5 separate regions of the Homo sapiens genome follow, and regions 1, 2, 3 and 4 are each linked to region 5. Evidence: promoter capture Hi-C in 16 types of primary human blood cells and fetal thymus (Javierre and others, 2016). All regions are on one chromosome and are shown on one strand. The core of a region is centred on a gene start or on the middle of the fragment in contact, and the rest is flanking DNA. Distances in the headings are between cores, read along the strand shown. Region 1 has its middle 22 kb from the start of COL9A2. Region 2 holds the start of SMAP2 (small ArfGAP2). Region 3 overlaps SMAP2 (small ArfGAP2). Region 4 overlaps SMAP2 (small ArfGAP2). Region 5 holds the start of CAP1 (cyclase associated actin cytoskeleton regulatory protein 1).

Evidence for each region. Contacts are between HindIII fragments. The CHiCAGO score rates a contact against its expected background, and 5 or more counts as called.
Region 1: a contact is called between a fragment that was not itself captured here and the fragment with the promoter of CAP1 in region 5, in 1 of 17 cell types (neutrophils). The highest score is 5.5, in neutrophils.
Region 2: a contact is called between a fragment that was not itself captured here and the fragment with the promoter of CAP1 in region 5, in 2 of 17 cell types (non-activated CD4 T cells and neutrophils). The highest score is 5.2, in non-activated CD4 T cells.
Region 3: a contact is called between a fragment that was not itself captured here and the fragment with the promoter of CAP1 in region 5, in 1 of 17 cell types (M0 macrophages). The highest score is 5.1, in M0 macrophages.
Region 4: a contact is called between a fragment that was not itself captured here and the fragment with the promoter of CAP1 in region 5, in 2 of 17 cell types (neutrophils and monocytes). The highest score is 8.0, in neutrophils.

Annotation. Positions count from the first base shown.
Region 1 is chr1:40,336,723-40,341,338 of GRCh38, reverse strand. No RefSeq gene overlaps it. Among named protein-coding and RNA genes, the nearest start is that of COL9A2, 22 kb to the right of the region's middle. The HindIII fragment of the contact is 1,730 bases long and covers 1,503-3,232 here.
Region 2 is chr1:40,373,341-40,378,015 of GRCh38, reverse strand. It overlaps SMAP2 (small ArfGAP2), which reads right to left and starts at 4,289. Exons shown (of 10, transcript NM_022733.3): 1 at 3,793-4,289. The coding sequence starts at 3,895. RefSeq lists an enhancer at 3,532-4,031 and silencers at 4,017-4,156, 4,227-4,546. The HindIII fragment of the contact is 857 bases long and covers 2,855-3,711 here.
Region 3 is chr1:40,389,644-40,393,995 of GRCh38, reverse strand. The region is part of intron 1 of SMAP2 (small ArfGAP2); the gene reads right to left. Among named protein-coding and RNA genes, the nearest start is that of SMAP2, 18 kb to the right of the region's middle. The HindIII fragment of the contact is 3,918 bases long and covers 1-3,753 here.
Region 4 is chr1:40,419,216-40,424,256 of GRCh38, reverse strand. It overlaps SMAP2 (small ArfGAP2), which reads right to left. Exons shown (of 10, transcript NM_022733.3): 10 at 935-2,281. The coding sequence ends at 2,156. Among named protein-coding and RNA genes, the nearest start is that of ZFP69B-DT, 28 kb to the left of the region's middle. The HindIII fragment of the contact is 3,318 bases long and covers 1,774-5,041 here.
Region 5 is chr1:40,039,166-40,043,714 of GRCh38, reverse strand. CAP1 (cyclase associated actin cytoskeleton regulatory protein 1) reads right to left here and starts at 2,986. Exons shown (of 13, transcript NM_006367.4): 1 at 2,914-2,986. LOC105378669 (a long non-coding RNA gene) reads left to right here and starts at 3,269. Exons shown (of 3, transcript XR_001738013.3): 1 at 3,269-4,549. RefSeq lists enhancers at 2,687-2,776, 2,847-3,046, 2,700-3,334, 3,297-3,366, 3,335-3,968. The HindIII fragment of the contact is 17,502 bases long and covers 1-4,549 here.

The sequences.
Region 1 (4,616 bases), core at 1,118-3,617, 300 kb before region 5:
GCTTATTTTCTAGTTTCACACGTCCACAGGTGGAGAGAAACTTTGCCCCAGGATAGATTATGCTGAGTCTCATCCAAAACCTAATTTAGATAATATCCATGATAAATCTGAAACTCTTGAGCTAATGAGATTTAAATGAGACTTTGAACTTTGAGTTGATACTTTAATGGGCTGAGATTTTTAGGGACCTTGGAATAAGGTGAATGCATTTTGTTCGTGAGACAGGTATGAATACTGGGGCCAGAGAATGGTCTGTGGTAGGCAGAATAATGATCTACCAAAGATGCCTCCAGAACCTGTGAATCTGTTACATTACATGGCAAAAAGGGACTTTGAAGAATTGATTAAATTAAGGATTATGAGACAGGGAGATTATCCTACATTACCTAATAGGCCCAATATAATCACAAGGTCCTTAAAAGTGGAAAGGGGGCCGGGCGTGGTGGCTCATGCCTGTAGTCCCAGCACTTTGGGAGGCTGACGCAGGCAGATCACTTGAGGTCAGGAGTTCAAGACCAGCTTGGCCAACACGGTGAAACCCCGTCTCTACTAAAAATACAAAATTATCCAGACGTGGTGGCAAGCACCTGTAATCCCAGCTACTCAGGAGGCTGAGGCAGGGGAATCACTTGAACCTGGGAGGCGGAGGTTGCAGTGAGGCGAGATCACACCATTGTACTTCAGCCTGGGCAACAAGAGTGAAACTCCATCAAAAAAAAAAAAAAAAGTGGAAGGGGAAGACAGAAGAGAGAAGCACAGGGAGATTTTACTATAGTATGGTCAGTAAGATGTAACTTTGTTGGTTTTGAAGATGGAGGAAGGGGAAACCAAGAAATGTGGGAAGCCTCTAGAAGGTGGGAAAGGCTGGGCAATGAGTTATCTCCTTGAGCCTCCAGAAAGGAACACAGAGGAAAAACAATGGAGCAAAACTGGAAGCAAGGAGTTAAAATAAGAGGCAGTTGCAATACCCCCAAGCAAAAGAGGATGGTATGCTGAATAAGGTAGGTGCAGTGGGGATGGAGAGAGGTGGATGGATTAAACACCTATGAGGTATAGTCACTGGGACAAGGCGATAATATTTCTCGGGGAGGAGAGAGGGAAGTCTCTTCTCCAGGATGACATCCATAGTTTTGGCTTATGCAATAGGGCAGAGGGTGGGACCACTGGCTGTGTAGGCCACACAGGAAGAGGAACAGGTTTGTGGGCAAGAAGATAATTTCATTTGGGACATGTCAGTTTGGTGGTGCCTGTGGAACATCTGAGAAGCAGTTGGATAAGCAGGTCTGAGACTCAGGAAAACATATAGGCAGCAGTTAAAGTCAACCCGATGGATAAGATGGCCCAGGAAGAGTATAAAGAATAAGAAGATAGGACAGGACCTTGTAGAGTGCTAAGTAAGGGTGTGCAGAGAAAAGAAATCTGCAAGGGGCCTGAGAAAGAACAGCTGGAGAGGTAGGAGGAAAGCCAGGAGAGTGTAGTTCATGTAAGCGGACACTAAAGCTTATCAGTGTTGGACCAGCACTGGGAAGGAATCAGATGGAACAAGTGGGAGGTCAGATGAAACCAGGGTCAGGATTGGCAATTCTGAGGAGTTTGGAGTTGCTCTGTTCTAGCTGGAGAGAGAAGCACCTGTGGGAAGCTGATGGTTGGTATTTTCTGCCAGGCATAAGAGGGCAGCCAGAGGCCAGGTGAGCAAACCTGTTTAGCACTCTGGCTCAGCCCAGAATGGGCAGCTGTTTCCAGGAAGGGGTTCTAGGTCGTCTCACTGTGCTGTAATTAAGAGACTCAGCCCCTGCCCCAACTTGCTCCACGGGACTGACCAGCTGTGTTTGCTCTTCTCTAGCAGGGAAGGGGGATCATCTGTCACCTACTCTGTTTTCTGAACATTCATCCCACTCCCTGCCTTTCTTACAAAGTTCCTTCTGCCAATTAACCGGGTGTGGTGGCGGGCGCCTGTATTCCCAGCTACTTGGGAGGCTGAGGCAGAAGAATCGCTTGAAACCGGAAGGCAGAGGTTGCAGTGAGCAGACATTGCGACACTGCACTCCAGCCTGGGCGAAAGAGCGAAACTACATCTCAAACAAACAAAACGAAGTTCCCTTCTGCCGAAAACAAATATCCAAAGCGTTCTGGGCACTGTGCTAAGTACTTCATGGTCATCAAGAGACACTATTCTCCCCATCTCACAAATGAGGAAACTGAGGCTTAAAGAGATGAAATGACTTGCCCAAGGTCACAGTCAGTATGTGGTAGAACCAGGATCCAAGTCTAGCTGAATCCAAATTCTAAGTTCTAACTCCCCAGAAACCACGACTGCTCCCTCGCTGGGTTCCCACAGTGCTTTATCTGCCTCTATGCCCGTTTCATCTCGCTAGCAGCTCCTGGAGAAAGGGGCTTTTAATTCGTCTTGTCAAGCTGTCATCATGGTGTGCTGCCGCAGAGGACCACTAGGTGCCGCCAGAGCACCAGCCAGCCTGATTTACTGCTCACCTGGAGTCGGTCTAAAGGAGCAACTGGTGGGGAAGGGAGCTGGGCCTTTTCTTCCTGCCCTGCAGCCCACCTCTCCTTCCTATCGGAGGTGGGAAGAAACGACTGGAAGATTGGAAGGTTAGAAATTAGAGATTTGGCCGGGCGTCGTGGCTCACGCCGGTAATCCCAACACTTTGGGAGGCAGAGGCAGGTGGATCACATGAGGCCTGGAGTTCGAGATCAGCCTGGCCAACAGGGTGAAACCCCGTCTCTACTAAAAATACAAAAATTAGCCGGGCGTGGTGGTGCACATCTATAATCCCAGCTGCTCAGGAGGCTGAGGCAGGAGCTGAGGTTTGAACCCACGAGGCAGAGGTTGCACTGAGTCGAGATGGCGCCACTGCACCCCAGCCTGGGCAACAGTCAGAGCTGGTCTCAAAAAATAAATAAATAAATAAATAAATTTAGAGATCTGAGGAGTGTAAACTGGAGCAGCCCAGGGCTCAAGTCAAACAGAAGATCCTAAGAGTTCTCTAAGAAAGCTAGAACCAGCAAAATAAAATATTGCGGCAAACATCTCCAGGCTGGGTCTCAGCCCCACTCCTCTGTCCTCCCTTTTTGTGCAGATCCTAAAATGCACAACCCTATGCTGTGGCTGTAGTGGAAAGTGGGGAAAATGTATGTTACTGAGACCTATCCAGAGCTAGAAACTGTGGGAAAACAGGTGTGTGTCCTTGGGGAAATCACTTCACACCTCTAAGCTTCAGTCTTCTTGTAAATAAAATGAGGATAGGCCCAGCACAGTGGCTCACGCCTGTAATCCCAGCACTTTGGGAGGCCAAGGTGGGAGGATCGCTTGAGCCCAGGAGTTCAAGACCAGCCTGGACAACATAGTGAGACCTCTTCTCTATTAAAAATAAATAAATAAATAAAATGAGGATAATCAAGGGACCTACCTCGTTGAGCGGTTGTGAGGAGTTAAAGACAAAATGCATGTACCACACTGATACAATATCTGTCATATAGCAAGTGCTTAATAAATATTGTTATAAACACAATAATTATGATAATATAAATATTTAAATGATAAGCATTATTGTTGTATTTGTCAGGATTCTCCAGAGAAACAGAACCAATAGGATATATATAGATAACGTAAGAGGAAATTTATTACGGGCGTTGGCTCATGCGATTACAAAGGCCAAGAAGTCCAATGATAAACTGTCTGCAAGCTGAGAACCAGGAAAGCCGGTAGCGTAATTTAGTCCCCAGTGGAAGGCCTGAGAGTGGGGTTGGGGAGGGAAACCGGTTCAAGAACCAGGAGCTCCGATGTCCAAGGGGAGGAGAAAATAGATGTCCCAGCTCAAGGACAGAGAGAATTCACCCTTCCTCTGCCTTTTTATTCAAGCCCTCAATGGACTGGATGCTGCCCACTCACATAGATGAAGGTGGATCTTCTTTGCTCTCAGTCTACTGATTCAAACGTTAACTCTTCCAGAAACACCCTCAAAGGCACACCCAGAAATAATGTTCTACCAGCTAATATCCCTTAGTCCAGTCAAGATGACACGTAAAATCAGTACACAAAATTAACAGTCACTGCTGGGCGTGGTGGCTCACGCCTGTAATCCCAAAACTTTGGGAGGCTGAGGCGGGAGGATCACCTGAGTTCAGGAGTTCGAGACCAGCCTGGCCAACATGGTGAAACCCTGTCTCTATGAAAAATACAAAAAAATTAGCCAGGCATGGTGGCGGGTGCCTGTAATTCCAGCTACTCTGGAGGCTGTGGCAGGAGAATTGCTTGAACCCAGGAGGCAGAGGTTGCAGTGAGCCGAGATCACACCACTGCACTCCAGCCTGGGCAACAGAGTGAGACTCCATCTCAAAAAACATTATAAGCAAATCAAAGAAAATTGAGGACTACCAGATTATAATTTCTGACCCATTATCTTTCACCCAACTTGGTCTTGAACAACTAGTAGCTATTTCTCAAATCCAATCCACCTTCAAGGTTTAACAAACAAATAAAAATATGTTCACACACCTTCAAAATAATCTGATAGAAGTTCTGAAGATAGGCTGGGTGAGGTTCACACTTGTAATCCCAGCACTTTGGGAGGCCGAGGCAGGCAGATCACGAGGTCAGA
Region 2 (4,675 bases), core at 2,034-4,533, 330 kb before region 5:
CATTAACATTGTATTAGATATTATAAGTAATCTAGAGATGATTTAAAGTATAAGGGAGGATGTGTATAAGTTATATGCAAGCACTACAACATTTATATCAGGGACTTGAGCATCTGTGGATTTTAGTACCCCAGAAGGTTCCTGGAACCAATCCCCCCTGGATACCAAAGGACAACTGTAGATCCTTTCATGGTAAATAAGATAGTGTCCAGTTTAAAACACAGTCTCTGACGGGGTGGCTTAGCAATTATTCCTGACACACTGATAAAATCTGGAACTGCTGAGCTAGAAGTTAAAACTTGGACCAGTATGACCCCAAGTACAAAGGAAGTATGACCCATACCCAAAAATGGAACCCAGCCTCAATCAGCCAGAGTTACCATTGACATATCTGGAATTTTCAGTAGTTTTGTCCTCTGTTCTATCACTACCTAAGTTAGTCCAAAAGTTCACCCTAAAAGTCACATTAACCCCAGGGCTTTGGGTAATGAAGAAATCACATCTTGAGCCTAGAGAGAATCATAGCATTTCTTAAATAGGCAGCCCCAAAGCAGTTTCCTTTCCCACACTGAAATTACTGGAATGGTTTAGTGGTCCCAGAAACTGGTAAGACTCGTGCCCAGGACAGTTAAAAACCCCAGGATCAACAAAACTTGTACGAAGTAAAAAGAACACAAGCTTGTTCTCTATTCTGATGTTTATTTGTTGTGTTTTGTTTTAGAGACAGGGTCTTGCTCTCTGACCCAGGCTGCAGCGCAGTGGCACTCAATCATGGCCCACTGCAGCTTCGACCTCCTGGGCTCAGTTGCCCAGGTGATCCTCCTGCCTCAGCCTCCTGAGTAGCTGGGACCACAGATGCACAACACCACACCCAGCTAATTTTTTAACTATTTGTAGAGACAAGGTCACACTATGTTGCCCAGGCTGGTCTTGAACTCCTGGACTCAAGTGATCCTCCCTCCTTGGCCTCTCAAAGTGCTGGGATTACAGGTTTGAGCCACCACACCCAGCCTCTATTCCGAAGTTTAAATCACATACCTTGAAAGTCAACTAATAAATGTTCCTAAATAAGTATAAGAATTTAAAAATAAAAGTCATTGCCAAAGAGTTATATTTTGGAACATTGCAAAAATACCTGCTCATAGGTCGATAGTCTATGCCACATCATCTAACTGGATATTAATAGATGAGCAATCACTCACCATATCCTGTACAGTTAACTTCCAATTTTTTAGGAAAGGACACAGGAATACAGGTAAATAAACTGAAACCCAATTCTCATTTTAGCCAACACTTTTTAAATTCCTCCTCCAATGAAATGTATTTTTTATCAGCGCTAACAGGTAACAATTTATTGATCCAAACGTCTTTTCCTTCAACAATCTGATAGTTGTCCAAATGATCATTATGACAACCAAAATTAGAAAACAGCAGGGGAAAAAGAGTGAGAGGGCTTGGAGGGGTGGAATGGGATAGGTAATTCATAAATTGGATAAACAGAGGCCTCAACAAATGCCTATTTGTCATAATCTAAAGATGACTGACCCATTGTCATCTCATTTTTAATACAATGACCAAGTCCCTGAAGCCACCTGGTAAAATGTAAAACGAACTTCTGAAAAGAAATTGAGGATCCAGGATTCTACCATCAACAGTAGTTAATAAAGTTTACAAGCCAGCAGTTACTAGTTCTCATTAAGAATTAACTGATATTTCATAACCTGATCCCCAGTAAGCTTATTAATAAAAAGCAACGGAAATTTCGGGCTGGGCATGGTGGCTCACACCTGTAATCCCAGCACTTTGGAAGGCTGAGGCGGGTGGATCACCTGAGGTCAGGAGTTCAAGACCAGCCTGGCCAACATGGTGAAACCCTGTCTCTACTAAAAATACAAAAATCAGCTGGGCATGGTGGCGGGCGCCTGTAATCCCAGGTACTCGGGAGGCTGAGGCAGGAGAATCACTTGAACCCGGGAGGCAGAGGTTGCAGTGAGCCGAGATTGCACCATTGCACTCCAGCCTGGGCGACAAAGCGAAACTGTCTCAAAAAATAAAAATAAAAAATAAAATAAATAAAAAGCAATGGAAATTTGGAGGAAGAAGTAGTGAATCAGCCTCTCTCTTCCATGTGCTGTATTTTATTGGAATATGAGTAAGTATAAGGGTAATATGAGAAATGGGGGGGGGGGTTCTAGTCACCAAAATGGCATCTGACTCTCCAAATGCAGCAATGCTCACTCCAGTGGGTTGCTTCACTGTGACTCAAGATCTGTCAAATGAGGACATAAGGGAATTTGAATAAAGCCAAGATACACTCCTAAAATAAACCAAATCTTCCAATAGACCTAACAGAAGATGTAACAAGAATCAAGAAGCTAACCTACTCAACATAAATTGATTCTAAAATACTTTTTAAAATGAATTATTGCTAATGCAAAAATTCAGGAAAGAAGTCTAGGAATTTGTTTTCCTAATGGCACATTCCATTTATCTGTTGGTAGAGGTCACTAAAATACATTACTAGGTGTCTATGTATCCCTCCCCTGTTCTCCTTTTATAACCTTATTCTTCAAAAATAAAAGGTAATTAAGTGAAAGCATCAATTAAATATGTCCTTCCTTTCTCAAAATAGATAAATACGAATATAACTGAATCTTTGTTTTATAGTATATGCCCACTACGCTGTACGGCAAACAACCATGGCAAATCCACTGCATTATGAACAAAAGTAAATTGTCGCCCCCAAAATATAACTATCCATTTCGACCCAACCAAAGGGAAAATAATTTTCCCAATCCTCCAATTATATGCCAAAAGAATTAGAAAATACAGGAAAAAAAGATTCATAGAAGCTTGTATAAATGTCAAGTGCCAACATTTCACTAATAACCAAGATTTCCTATTGTACTGACTTTTAATTGTATCAAATCATGAATCTTCTAGGGCACAGAAAACAAAGACTAAATGGTTCTGCCAATTTACAATGATCATATTTCACCTTTAGAAGTGTAATCGCCATGGAAGCAATGAATTCATCGAATTCATCTTTCTCTCTCCACTGATTAAACGGATCCTGCACTACAGGCATAATCGGCTAGTTTCTGCCACCACTCATACATAGGCCTCCAACGCACTCTACAAGCCAGGGCTACACTGCCTAGAAATCCGCACTGTGTCACTGCATAAGGCAGTTTCCCACTGCACACATCCAGAAGAATAAAGTCACCTAAGCACTCTTGTCAGATCTTAGCAAGGCTGCAAAATGACAGGAGTTGCTAACCAAATAGCAGGAAGCAAAAATCACCACCTTTAAAAATCATTTAAGCAGTTTTCCTTTCCGCCATCTCACTTCCCTCCTCCTCCTCCTCGTCATTCTCTCTCTCTCTCTCTCACACACACACACACACACACACACACACGCACGCACGCACGCACGCAATGCAGTTCATCCCCAGCTTTGCAAGTGACATGCTGGGAGCTCTCTCTGGACAGCCGGCCCAGAACTCATTCAGAGCCCTCAAATACAGACATTCTCACCTGAACACGCCAGGCAACTTCCACCCGCACCATCACCTCCACCCTCCCCGACACACACAGACTCGCCCTCGCAAGCTCTACCCATACCAATCCCCCAGCTGCAGAAAGCCCAGTAGGCTCACTGCAAGCGCAGCACGCGTTACCACTTATAAGCCGAGTTGGGCGGCCTAAGCTTCAGAAACCGCCTCTTCACGCAGCCCACCCCCACCACCCCGGCGCGGCTGGACCCCTGGCCCGCCAGGTGGGATGCGCTACCTTTAGACTGGCAATCTGCACAAAACTTGTTATCCTCCTCCAGCAGCAGGTTGGCCAGGACAGCCTGGTACCGATCCACGTCCTTCACCGACTTGCCTGTCATGGCCAGGGTGCCGGCGGGGGCAGAGGGCGACGCGCCCTCCTCGCCCCCAGAGACCCCTGCCTCAGTCCGGGGTTGAGGACTCCCGGTCCCCCGCCCAGGGGCACCTCCTGAGCGGGGAGAGCCCTCTCCTCCGGCCCCGCCGGACGCCCCTTCCCGGGTCGGGGGCGTCCGTCCCCCACTCCGCAGCCCCTCGGCGCGGCGCCCCTTGGCGGGCTTAGGGACAGGCCCGCCTCCAAGAGAGGCTGCGGGGCCAGAGACCCTCAGCCCAGGCAAAGGCGGACCACGAGCCTCCTGGGTGCCGGACGCAGATGACCCTCTGGCCGGCCTGTCTGCTGGCCTTGCGTCCCGCGCCTCGGTTTCCCTGGCAGCTGCCGTCAGCTCCGCTACCACCTCCACCGCCTACTTCCGGCAGCTCTTCCTCCCCACCTCCACCCTGCCCAGCTCGCGCATGCGCCCCGCCCCCACCGCGCCGCACTGGGCTCTTCCTTCAGCTCCGCCTCTCGGGAACCAATCCGTGGAGAAGCGGGGGGCGGGCCTTGGGTGGGGGCGGAGGGAAGGGGTGGGCACGCCCCCTGCGTGTCCTTGGAAGAGAATGAATGGAGCCTGGTAGAAAGGGAGTGGAGGGAATGGAAGAAAGTGAAGGAAGACAACAACTAACATTTACTGAGCTCTTACTATGCGCTAGGCACTGTGTTAAGCGCTTTGCATGAACTATCCCAACATAATCCTCACAACGACCCTATGATCATCCTTATGTAACCTGAGGGTTGTTGATACCCC
Region 3 (4,352 bases), core at 545-3,044, 350 kb before region 5:
TCTTTAGAGCCAATTACATGGATAATGGCAACTTGGAATTGGAAAAAAGGGTGAATCAGAAAATGGAGACCATTTAGATTATTGTCAGAAGTTAATTTGAAGAAACTCATTGATTCTGTTCACGCAAATACTCCTTAAAAAGGTTAGAAGTGGCCGGGCGCGGTGCCTCACGCCTTAATCCCAGCACTTTGGGATGCTAAGGCCGGTGGATCACCTGAGGTCAGGGGTTCAAGACCAGCCTGGCCAACATGCTGAAACCCCATCTCTACTAAAAATACAAAAATTAGCCAGGCATTGTGGCTCACGCCTGTAATACTAACTATTCAGGAGGCTGAGGCAGGGGAATCGCTTGAACCTGGGAGGTGGAGGTTGCAGTGAGCCAAGATTGAGCCACTGTACTCCAGCCTGGGCGACAGAGCAAGACTCTGTCACAAAAAAAAAAAAAAAAAAAAAAGTTAGAAGAACTACTTACACTTTGTTGATCAACTTACAGTCTCTCACAAATAGCTTTACAGGGCCTATTTCCTCTATTTGCAAAACATCTTTTTGTGCAAATCTTGCTCTGCCCACTTTCCCCATGAAGCCTTTTCTCCTTCCTATTCCAACTCCCACGGCGCTCTGCTGCCTCTCCTGCTGCACTCACTCATTTGTGGTTGTTCTGTTGTTGGGTTTTTTGTTTGTTCTTCTAAGATAGGGTTTGTTGCTTTGTTGCCCAAGCTAGAGTGCAGTGCAGCCTCAATCTCCTATGCTCAAGCAATCCTCCCACCTCAGCTTCTTGAGTAGCTGGGACTACAGGCATGTGCTACCACGCCTGGCCAGCTTTTATTTTTGAGAGCTCCTTTAGGTAACAACAACAATAAAATTATACTAATTTAGTATACTTTTTTTTTTTTTGAGATGGATTCACGCTCTGTCACCCAGGCTGGAGTGCAGTGGTGTGATCTTGGCTCACTGCAACCTCCGCCTCCCGGGTTCAAGCTATTCCCCTGCCTCAGCTTCCCGAATACCTGGGACTACAGGTGCATGCCACCACGCCTGGCTAATTTTTTGTGTCTTTAGTAGAGACAGCGGGGTTTCACCATGTTAGTCAGGATGGTCTCGATCTCCTGACCTAGTGATGCACCTGCCTCGGCCTCCCAACGTGCTGCGATTACAGGCATGAGCCACTGAGCCCGGCCTAATTTAGTATACTTTTTAAAAACCTAGTATGACTATTTTGCTTATGTGGATTTAAGTTTTAGATTGCTTATTACAGAAAATCACAGAAAGGTAATTTAAATACCCTAAATAGAAAGTCAAGGAAAAGGGTGTCCTTAATGCTCCTTGTCTCCTGGTTAGCCTATGATATTTCAGCTCCAGCCAATTTCCTTTACACAAAGACCCTGCTTAAAGCATTTATGAATAAGCTGGAAGAGTGGTGGATGAGACATGGCTTCTCTGAATAGGGGAGGGAGGACACAAAAAATAGCTGCTTTCATTGAGGGCAGGAAAGAGATTATTTCATTAGGAGCCAAACAGTGAGACTATCTCAGTACAAACAATTGTTTGGCTTGAAGACTCCATGTGGGTAATTACTCCAGCAAAGGCTCAGCTGGAATGGAACACGGAGCCTGCCAGGACCTAAGGATAGGGACTGACACAGGCTTAAGTGTCTGAATCATGGCTTTGGAATCCCAGAGCATCCCAGCAAAGATGCTCACAGAACACACTCTACCCCAATCAGCGAGAAGCACCATTCTGCACCCGACCAAGTGCAGAATGTGAATTTAAAACAGATGAGAAAATCTGGGGGTACTGGGAGCAAATTCAAAGTTATTAAACCTAAACTGATATTTTATAGCAAATGTAGCAAGTCCAAAGATTAGATTTCTTGGGCAATCTAATGCATTTCAATCACCACTTCAATGGCTAACAATAGGCTGGGTGGAGTTGGTGTGCAGGGAGGGACTGCTGAGCTAATAGCTGGGCAAATCATTTCAAAGTCAGCCAGGTGGACCTGATATTTCAAAACTTGATACTATAATTAAACCAATTTCCTAGTGACCTCACTTCAGGTAATATAAGCAAACTTGGTTCTCAAGTTACTGTCTTCATCTCCTGGGGACATTCAGTTCTTTACATTTTTAGGTTACTTCAGTTTAACTTCCTCTTTGCAACAACCAGTATCTACTCATATATTTAAAAACAAAAACAAAACAAAACAAAACAAAAAACTAAAGCTGCAAAGTGAGCCTGCCCACTGCGGGAGGGAAAGGGCCTATGTTTAGAAGAAGCTACTAAAAAGGGTGATATGGTCATTGTCCAATGAGATTGCTCTTCATCCTCCATCCCTAGGATAGATTCCTCACCCCACCACTTTGACGAGGAATTTTTTTCCCCTAGGAAGCTGAAGGGATAACTATCATAATACTAGATTCTGGATGCACAAGACCCAGTCCCGATCCATAACTCACAATCCCAGGGCCTTCCTAGGTTGCTATCTGATAGCCTTTGTGAGTGAATGCTTTCATACATTTCAATCATTACCCTGACCAAGGCTAATAGCAGGCTGGTGGGTGTAGGCGTGTAGGGACTGCTGCGCTAACAGCTGGGCAATCATTTCAAAGTTGGCCAGGTGGACTCAACATTTGAAAACTTGACATGGTCATTAAAGTCCCTCATAATCAAGCGTCGGCATTCATCTGTGTATAGTATACACTTAATGCATGCTTACTGATTAAACAGGTAATAAGCAATAGTGGAATAACATGAAAACTGATATTAAAAACAGCCCATATTCAAATAGTCCCATCTTTGTTCCTCTAGACCAATGGCTCCCAACAGAAACGATTTCCCCTCAAGGGGCAATGCTGATGTCTAGAGACATTTTTGGTTGTCACAACGGGCAGAGGGGTAGGGAAGAGCTACTGGCATCTAGTGGGCAGAGGACAGGAATGCTGGCTCCTAAACATTCTAAAATGCCCTGGACAGTGCCCACAACAAGGAATCACCCAAAATGTCAATAGTCTGAGGTTGAGAAATCCTGCTCTAGAGGAACCATTTTTAAGCCATTTAGTTTGAAGTGAGACATAAGAATATGTCAATTTTGTGGAAAAGCCTCTCTTGTTCTGTAACAAACAGATACACGTTTAGAGTACAAAATTCTAAAATTGTAACAAACCTTAGGAATGATCTAGTCTAAGCACAGTTGGAGAAACTAAGGCCTAGAGAGGTCAAGTCATTTGCCCAAGTTCACAGAAGAAAGGATCAGCTGGACTGAAATTAGAATCACCTTTACACACCCAAATGTGTGTTATACATAGTAAATGCTCAATAATGGTCACTAAATTGATATCTTGTTCTTTAGGTATTCTTTTTTTTATTATTACAACATACAATTCACTCTCTGCTGCTGGGAATCTGAGACTGATTGTGAAGATTTCTTCCCATCCACACTCCCCTTCCTCAAAAAGAAGCCCAGAAGGGAAAAACAGTGTAACCTACTAGAGCTCAAGACTGAGTGGCCAGGCAGAAGATGTTTTTCAATTGTTTCCAGGGAAGCTCATGTCTTTCACCCAGGCAGAGGCTCTACATAAAACCTTCTAAGTGAGCAAATGAGCCCTTGTGCAAGACCATGGACATGTGAATTTCTCTTCGCAACTCAGCACAGCAGCTTTCCTAACACATTGGAGAAGTCCCAACCAATGGCAAACAGATGGAAAATCAGTGCCAGTTTCACTGAATCACAACCACATCCAAACAAGCTAGAAAGCTTTCAGTTCTAAACAAACAGCAGAATCAAAATGAATTCTGGGATCAAAGTACAGATGGTTGGTTAGTCCAGTGGTGTGCAGAATATCAGTCATCAAAACAGCCCTGGCTTAAGGGAGGAGAGCAAAAGATGGAGATTTGCCCTTTGAAAAAGAAAACATTCACCACGATGTTTCAAAACCCAGGCGTTTCAGAATAGAACACAATGAGGTCAAAATATATGGCATAAGGGGGTGGGGCAAAGATACCAGCCATGTGAGTACAAAGATCCTGCAAAGGGAACATTAGGCAGATGAACTCAGGGCAGGTCTGGGGGTGGGCGGGGGAGGGGAGTGGGTGGAGGTGGGGGCATCACAATTTCAAAAGAGCCCAAGTAAGATTCTTTAAACGAACCTGTTCCAGTGGGCACAAGGAGTTTCTAAAACTGCTGCAAGGTTATTAAATTCTACAGCACCTGAGAACCACGTCTAAATATTTACTCCCATCCCACAAAAGGGCTAAAGGACTGCTATTTCAGCCTCCTGTTTCACACTTCATGCTACATTTTTCCCCAGGATGATGTGTCACACCAAAACCTCCTACTGAGAGGGCAGAGGATTCGC
Region 4 (5,041 bases), core at 2,183-4,682, 380 kb before region 5:
AATGTTTGTCAAATGAGCTACTGCCTAACACAGATCTGGCACGTAATACCTGCTAATATCTGAGTGCTTAGTAAGTGCCCAGTAGTGTGCTAAATATACCACAGGAACTGCTTCTTACTATCCTAAGTATTACCATTGTCCCCATTTTACCTGGACACAGGAGTTCAGTAATTTGCTCAGGTCCCAGCGTAGGAAGGGATAGGAACACTGGCAGCCTGACCCAGAGCCAACTTTCCTAGTCACTGTGCTGTCCTCCCACTTACATCTTTAAGGACTCAAAGGGTGTACTCAAAGGAAAGAAGGGAGGAAGGGTCCAAGGATCACATTTGTTGAGAGCAGAAAAGGAGTCAAAGGGAGCAGGAAATGCACTAAAGATGGTCTTCGGCCTTTTGTATTTCGTACTGCCCCCAGGATTGAGTGTCCTAATTCCTGACACTGATACGGAAGGTCCAGTTCTGATAGCTCAGAGAGGGGTGAGTTACCTTTACCAGCCAAAGCTACTGCTCTCTTGGCAGAGAGGAATTTCAACTCACTACTTAATTGCCATGGTATAGGGAAAGAACAAGGGGCTGGAAATCCAGACACTTGGAGGCTACTGCCGGTTCTGCCCAGGGTTCTCTAGTGGACATTTGCCAACCATGTCCTTTCTCCGTGTCTCAGTTTCTCCACCTGTGGGGGGAAAGCATGCCGCTCTGATGCTCTGTGACTCTAGAAGGTGCTGATCTCTGGAGTTCTCTCAGCTCACAGCTCTAGATGCCAGTGGAGAGAGGCCCCCTTTCTGACTGCTGGAGCCTGGGCCTCACCCTTGGGTATGAGAAGTACAGAATTTTCTAAAATACAGGAAGTGAAACAATTGCCTTTGGAAAACAGAAAACCTAAGTGTAACGCACCCTCCTCCAAGAGTGACGCACAGTAATGGCCAAGCAAACAGTCCTTCCCTGCAATATTTATTAAGGAATTTACACATACACAGGAGAAAGGCAGCCAGGAACTGTGGTTCCCACACATGAAATCTTTTAAGCAAAGTTTTCTTGTCTGAATTTTCAAGTGGGGTGAACAATGACTGAGAGGAAAGCTGTCCCGGCCCTCTGCCTCGTACACCTGGGAACGGTGGGGAAACAGAGCACCCTGGATACACAGGCATGAAAGAGTGATCAGCAGACCGGGAGAAGGGAAGGGAGAAAGGGAGTTATCAATGACATGGCGTTTTTTAAACCATAAGAAAAACACAACAGTTTTAGGCTGCTGATAAATTAATTCCTCTCTGTTGTAAACCTAAAACTAAACAAAAACAAAAATACCCAGAGCAGATGGGGAGAGGGTGGGAGGCGGAACACACACTCATACACACACACACACTCACGCACACACACAAGCAGTACACGTTAAGCTCTGCATTCCCACTATAGGGGTTGGTCCTCCAGCCACGGAGCCAGATCCTACTGAAGGCAGGGGGGAGGCGGGAAGGGATGTGTGTCTGTGTGTGGGATCTTCATAAAGTCTTTGGTGCTAATAAAGGCTGACTGAAGCAGCAAGTCCTGAAGCCCCAGATCCAGAAAGCAACTCAGGGCGAAGAGAGTAGTATTTTTGCTCATCCTCATAGGAGGGGGCTTGCCTCACCCCAGGGCTAGGGTCAAACTGACCCAGGACCCAGGGAGTATTTAATTTGATTTCAGTACTTGCTTCATTCCCATAAATCATGAGAACATGATGCTTTTCAAATTTAAACACTTAGAAACAGCTTATTAACACATATAGAAGGACCTCTAAGCTTTCCCCTGTTTGCCTAATATACAACACCCACAGACCCTTCTGAGAGTCTGACAGGAGCTTTAACCTTGAGGGAAGGGACTCAAAGGTGTGCACACTTCTCCCACAGTTTAAGTGCCTTCTGCCAACAACTTCTAAGGTGCTGGTGCCAGGAGAGGACTGGGGAGGACGTTGGGATGGCTATGGGGCATGTACAACATAAAGCAACAGAGAGGTCTTCATGTTTGGGAAGTGGCTGGGCAGGATGCCAAACCCCAAATGACTTATTGAGCAATTTCTAAACCAAACAGAGAGGTAGGAAAAGAGGATGGGGGTCAGGGGTGGAGGCTGTGGAAAGGGGAGAGCGAGGGCTGAAGAGAATGGCAGCCATACAGGTGTTTTGTTTTTATTTCCACATCTGAGGACTGAGAGTCTGATTTGCTGCCTGTCCATTTCCGCCACTCATTGACTGTCCATAGTTCATCATGCCATTGGCTCCATAGAAGTTCATCCCAGCCATCTGCTGGGTCATCTGAAAGGGAGAGAGGAGACTTTCAGACCAGGCTGTGGGCATTCCGCCAATTAGTGCAAAAGGCAGGGTGAGAGTCCCTTTCTCTGCCAGGATGGGGAGAATGAGACAAAGGGAAACTCTGTTATGGACAGTAAACCCTGGACCTTAGCAGTCAGATCATTTCAAGGCCACGTACGTGAATGACCTTTTGGGAGTGCAATGCTGACGGAGACTAAAGCTCAGGGAGGGAAAGAAGGCATCCTGGCATCTGGATCTAGTCGACAGAAAATCAGCATGAGTTCCTCTCTTTTTCCTTTCCAGTCCCTCATCCTAAATAGAAGGGGCCTATTGTTAACTTGCCTGGCCAATCCTAAAAGCTGAAAGGAAAGCCCCCTCCCCAGTGCTCCCGCCTCATCTTCAGCACAGCTATTACTGTCAGTGTCAGGGAAAGCGCTTGAGCAGGCTTGCTCGTTTGCACAAGGGGGAAAAAAAGGAACTGGACTGTTCAGAATGAACAAAGGCGGTGGCGGGGCGGGGGCGGGGGAAGACTAATGTGTCTTCAGTGTATAAGAAGGGAAGGAGCTGGGAGAAAACAGTCAGTGGAATAAGGCCTGGGGCAGGATGGGGCGGGGGTCCTTCATGAATCTGATGGAAAGACTGGCCCCTAGCAGTGAACAGAAAAATACTTTATGGAGAAAAATGCCTTGAATTTCCTAAGCCTAGTAAATTTTCTATATAAGTTATTTTTCTTTAGGAGAAACTATTATTTTCTTGTACCAACTTTTAAAGTAAATTTCAAACTGACATAAAAGTTGAAACAATAGTACAATAAAACCCATGTATCTTCTTCCTTAAATTCACCAACTGTTAACATTTGCCATATTTTCTCTCCCTCCCTATAAAAAAACTTACATTTTTTTGATGAGTATCAAAAGTTGCAGATTAAAAAAAAAAAAAAGCTGCAGCTATCACGACATTTCATTCCTAAGTCAGGAGGCACCTCATAAGAATGAACACTTTAACAGAACCACAAAACAATGAACACGCTCAAGAATTTTAACATTAACACCATATTCTAATGTACATGGCATTTCATTTTCAGATCTCTGTAGTCTCCTTTAAGCTAGACCAGTTTCCCTAACACTTCCTTCCATTTCTTCCTGACACTGACATTTTTAAGAACCCAGGACAGTTATTTTGTAGCATACCCCTCAATTTGGATTCATCTCATGTTTTCTCATAATTGGATCGAGGTTCAATATTTTTGGCAAGATTCTATGGAGGTGACACATGTCTTTCTTAGTACAAAATATCAGGAAGCATATGACATTACTTTGTTCCTCTGTCAGTAATTTTATGTTTGATCACTTGGCTGAGGTAGTGACTATATTTCTTTCATTATAATTAATAAATAATCTGAAGGGCATTTCTTTGCAAATGTGTCAATCCTTTGCTCTTTTTACAACTACTGTCATTCTTCTGTAAAGAAGGCTTTTCCTCCCTCCATTCCACACCTGGTTTTTAAAAAATATCACCGTGGACTCATGGTTTTGTTTTGTTTTTTCCATTCAGTGTGTCATAATCCATTACTGTTGTTACTCTTTTTGATGTTCAAATTGTCTCACATTTGGCCAGTCAGAGCCACTGGAAGTTGGCTCATGCGTCCCTCTGACATATTCCCATCAGACTTATAGCATTCCATTACTTATATAAATAAAAACGAAACAATGAAAATAAGTGAATTAAAATCTCCACTATGAAAGCTAGAAAATAACAAAGTAAACCCATAGAAAGCCTACGGAAATTGAGGTAGAAAACGGAAAAATGTAGCACCAATAAATCGAAATCCTGGTTCTTTGAAAAAAATTAATGAGACTGCTAGGCATAACTTTTGATAAATTTGAAAACCTTGGCGAAATGGAAAATCTAGGTAAATACAGTTTTCCAAAATTGACTTCCATAGAAGAAACAGAGAAAAGTATCAAAGATTTGCTACAAAAAAAGCAATAGTGCCCACAAACTTCACATGGGAATTCCACAAAACCTTCAAAGACCAGAGCTACATAAATTATTCTGGACCACAGAGAAACAAAAACATAAAAGTACTTCTTATAAATAAGTATAACCCTGATAAAGATAGCTATACATGCACATGTGCAGTACACATGCACCATACCACCTCTCTGGGGTTCCTTTGCCTGTCTCTTGGTTTTCACATTAAATCACTTTGTATTTCTTTGTACCTAGTGCAAAACTAGTGTTGCTTTGTTAGCCAATTTGAACATCATTTTCTTTTGATAGAAGAGTTGCCTACTGGTATGACTGGTATGTTTGGTCTCAACTCCATCATATTAGATTTTTACTGTGTTTATTGTATTTGCTGCACTTTGTAGTCTGTTTTTAAAAATTCTCAGCTGGGCGCAGTGGCTCATGCCTGTAATCCCAGCACTTTGGGAGGCCAAGGTGGGTGGATCACCTGAGGTCAGGAGTTTGAGACTAGCCTGGCCAACATGGTGAAACCCCGTCTCTACTAAAAAATACAAAAAAAATTAACCGGGTGTGGTGGCGGGTGCCTGTAATCCCAGCTACTCGGGAGGCTGACGCAGAAGAATCACTTGAACCCAGGAGGCGGAGGTTGCAGTGAGCCGAGATTGTGCCACTGCATTCCAGCCTGGGTGACAGAGTGAGACTTTGTCTCAAAAAAAAAAAAAAAAAAGAAAGGAAGAAAATTATCTTGGTATTCAGAACATTTCACGTGTTTGTTCTAGTGATTACCTTCAT
Region 5 (4,549 bases), core at 1,737-4,236:
AGTAGTGATGGTGTTTCACCATGTTGGCTAGGATGGTCTTGAACTCCTGATCTCAAGTGATTTGCCCACCTCAGCCTCCCAAAGTGTCAGGATTACAGGCGTGAGTCACTGTGCCCAGCCCAGAAATTTCTTTATGCTGGACCTGGGCAAATCAATTAGCAAACTGCCACCCACAAAATCAAATCCAAACAAATTCAACAAGGCATTAAAAGCCCTTCACGCCGGGTGCGGAGGCTCACACCTGTAATCACAACACTTTGGGAGGGCGAGGCAGGCGGATCACGAGGTCAGGAGTTCGAAACCAGCCTGGCCAGCATGGTAAAATCCCGTCTCTACTAAAAATACAAAAATTAGCCGGGCGTGGTGGCGCACGCCTGTAATCCCAGTTTCTCAGGAGGCTGAGGCAGGAGAATTCCTTGAACCTGGGAGGTGGAGGTTTCAGTGACCCGAGATTGTGCCACTGCACACCAGCCTGGGCAACAGAGCAAGACTCCGTCTCAAAACAAACAAACAAACAAAAAGCCCTTCACAACTTGGCCGACATCTAACCTTTTTTGCAGTCTGGTCTTCTGCAAAACTCCAGGCCCCAGTATCACTGAACAATTTAGGCCCTCTCCTGCCTCCGTATCTTTACTCTTGCTCTTTCCTTTAGCTGACCCACCTTATTAGACATCTTTGCCTGGATGTGCTACAAACACCTCAAACTAAAAACATTCAAAATGCATTTTTTCCCATGTCACTTCCCTAATTTACCTCTCATACTCTCTATCTGAATGGTACTACCCATTCAGTTCCCTAAGCCAGAAAGCCAGGCAATCGCGCTATTCTTACCTCTTCATTCCCATAATCAGCCTCCAATTCTATGGATTCTATCTTCTTAATATTGCTCACATCTGATGCCTCCTCTCCATTCCCATTTCCACTGTCTTAGTTCAGGCCATGTCTACAGCAAGAGCTTCCAAACACTGTTTTACTTCCCCACAGGGCTGGTCCCCTCCTACTTGACAGAATGAACTTTCTGAAATATAAATCTGACGACATCATTTTCCTGCATAAAACCCTTCAAAGCATCTCCATAGCTTTCAGGGTAAAAATCCAAATTCCTTAGCATGACTTACAATGTCCTCCACATATGACTGACCTGACCACATCTCACTTCCTCCACTTCCCCAGCCATTACTAGAATTCCAGTCACACTGAACTCGTCATGGTCTTTCAGCTGTCCGGTTCTCCAGGTCCTTGCACCTGTAGTAGTCTCTGCCTGGAAATCCCTTTTCCGGATTCCCTATGTAGCTAAATAAATATTTCAAGAGTTAGCCTCCCATTTCCTCCTGGAACCCTGGGCACCTGGCTCAGGTATTTCTCCACTGTGCTCTTGTAGCCCTGTGCTATGCACTATGACACTGTAAGCCATCCCTCATTTACTTGTCTATTTCCTCTCCCACTGTAAACTCCAGAAGAACTGTATTCTTTGCCACAAAGGCTATCTCATTAAAATGTGCCTCATACATATTAAGGTCTTAATAAACGTCTGGTGGGGCCGGGCACGGTGGATCATGCCCGTAATCCCAGCACTTTGGGAGGCCGAGGTGGGGGGATCACCTGAGGTTAGGAGTTCGAGAGCAGCCTGGCCTTCACGGCGAAACCCCATCTCTACTAAAAATACAAATAAATAAATTAAATAAAAGTCTGGTAAATGATAAATGTGCTGATATGCCCCCGGATTTTCTCTTGAAGAGAGAGCCCCACAAAGAGCTTCAACTGACACAGTTCTGATGCTAACCTGTCTCAAATGTTCTCATTCCACTCTTCGAACGCATTCCTATTTATCCTTCAAAATTCATCTTAAAAACTCTGCTTCTTCAGAAGGGCTTTTCCTGAACCCCCTGTTACATACTTTCAGAGCACCCTGTTCTTTCCTAACACTCATCAACATTTATAATTACTTCTTAAACATCCCTGCAAACACTGCTAGCTCCACGCGGGCAGGGTCTACATTGTTTTGTTTTAAAGCTGCATTCCCCGCATCTGGGAAAATGCTGGCACAGAATAAACACAATTTGTTACGCTGAATTTAATCTTGTGGGGTCAGCAGAGATCTCCACTTAAAAGATGAACAAAAGGAGGCTGAAAGAAGTTTAAGGCACCTATGGCCACAGACACTCAGCACTGAGGCCAGACCAAACCTGAGCCGTCTGATTTCAGGTCCAGAAGTACATACCTTCAATGTTAGCCTGGCTTGTCAAAGTAAGAGCAGCAGCCGAGGAGGAAAGGGAGGATATCTGCCTGTAAATACAAGGATGTGCCCGCCTTTCTTTTAAAAACTCCCTAGGCATTTCAAACGGCTCAATTTGGGAGGAGAGAAAAAAAAAAGTTCCACGCAGCGCTGGCCTTTAACCTGCAGCAGCCTGCGGGGCAACACCGACCGGAAGACCATCCCAAGTTAGAGAGGTTCCGAGCAACACGGGAAGAACTGGGGCTGGTTATCTAAGGCACCAGGATCATGATTCCGATTCTTTTCCTCACTCGCTATATATCTCAGACTAGCCTCTTCTCTAGGGATCAATTTACCTATCAGTGCAATGGGAGCATCAACAGGAGACAGGGAAGACTCTCCGATCTCGGAGGTTCCTTCCAGTCAGAGCACCTCAGGAATCAGGCCTCCGCTGAAGCTGATGGGCAGCGCTGCGAAATCGGGCAGAGGGGCCTCCCCGGGGCACCCGGACTCAGCTGCTCACCCCGGCCCCACCTCAAGAGACCGCGCCCAAGAGTCCGGGTCGGCCTGAGGGCCTCAGCCCCGGCCCTCTCGGCAGGGTTCATGACACGCGCGTAGGCCAGAAGGGCCATTAACACCACCAGGGGCCGATGGGCCCCGGAAGGGACCCCAATCCCTACCAAGCTGCACACCCTCACCTCAGAGTTCCGCCTCACCTCCGGACTGCGATCAGCCGCTCTCCGCTTCCGGCAAGAACCGCCCAGCAATCTCCGCGCGACCCACTTCCGGGCCCTCACTGGGCGCGGCGCCCCCACCGGAAATGAGCCGCCGGCTGAAGCGCTAGGCTGGCCCGCGACTGGGCAGGAAGTCTCACCGCCCCGCTCGTGACTCCGCCCCTCTTCGCCACGCCCCGGAGAGAGCGGCCCGGCTCTCACAGAGGGCACTTGGGAAAGAGCCCCGCCCTCAAGGCGGGAGCGACACGGGGAGGGCGGGCTCACAAGAGAGGCCACGCCCTCGTTCCGCTTTACCTACCCGGAATCGCCCCCGAGGCCCGGGCCCAGGAAGGGCAGAAGTCCCTGGCTAAGCTCCTCTCTGGAAAGAACAGAAGAGTGACCAGTTCCTCTGTCAGTTTGGTCTCAATGGCAGAGGCCGGTTCCTTTAAGCTGCAGTCCGTAAAGGGTCTTGGAACGACTGGGGGCCAGGATTCTCTGAGGGCGGGAATCCGGGCGGCCGTCAGCTCTCGGTGGTGATCGAGGCCACGCTCCGCCTGTCTCTGGGCGTGCATACCTCGGTTTCCCCGTTTGTGACGTGGGAAGGCAATTAGTCTGGACATTGTTGTGGGAGGACTTGCGGAGACTGGGCGCAGGGCGTGGGGGTCAGTGAGGGCGCGGTGGGTCAGCCCCAGCCCGGCTGGCAGTCGCGGGGCTGGGAAGGTAGGGAACCCTCCGCTCTCACCCCACTTCCTGTTTGGTCGGTGTGTTCTGTGACCATAGATGGTCAAGTCTGGGGCCGCGCGGAAGCCTCCGCCCTGTGGTTTTGGAGCCCTTCCTCCCGGCGCGCAGGGTGTGGTCCCCGAGAATAAGATGAGCAGAATTAAAGCAGATCCTGCACCCACTCTGCTGAAATCCGGCTTCTGAGGCAGCCTCGCCCAGGGCTGGGTGGGCTCAGGCGGCTGCTACTCGGTTCAGGGGAGGTTACGCACGGTGGCTGCCGCGCGCAGGGGAGGCTTCGCTTCCGTACTCCTTGGGCCGGGAGATCCGATCTTTGTTCCCTCAAGACTCACACTCTCCAACCGGTCATTATCCTCCCACAAAGATTTATTTCTAGAAAAAATTGGCAAGTGCCACAGTTCCCGCCCCTTCAGCTGAACGACTGTGACAGCTCCGTGTTTCAAGTTGAATGCAGGCGTTATGTGCCAGAGTCAATCATTCAACAAATAAAGTTCTTAAAATAACAGCTACCATTTACTGCACGCTGACTACTTGCCAGGCCCATGCTGAGTTCTTCAAGCGTATTTTCATTTACTCCTAATAGCAACTCTCGGTGGTAGGTACCATTATGCCCTCTAGTTTTCAAATGAGGAAGCTGAATAACTTGCCAAGGTCAGAAAGTAACTGTTGAAACTTTGAAGGAAACACATCTGTCTGACTCTAAATCCCATGAGCTTAATTAGCCCCTGTGATAGACCATACTGCAGACATTTGAGGCAGATTTGAGGTGGTGAATGCCTCTGGATCTGGAGACACTGGGTTCCAGTGCTGGCATAGGCCCTCTACTAGGGGTCAGACTTTGGTCAGGTTACTTTGGACGGGTTACTGGGCCTCTTCCTAACTT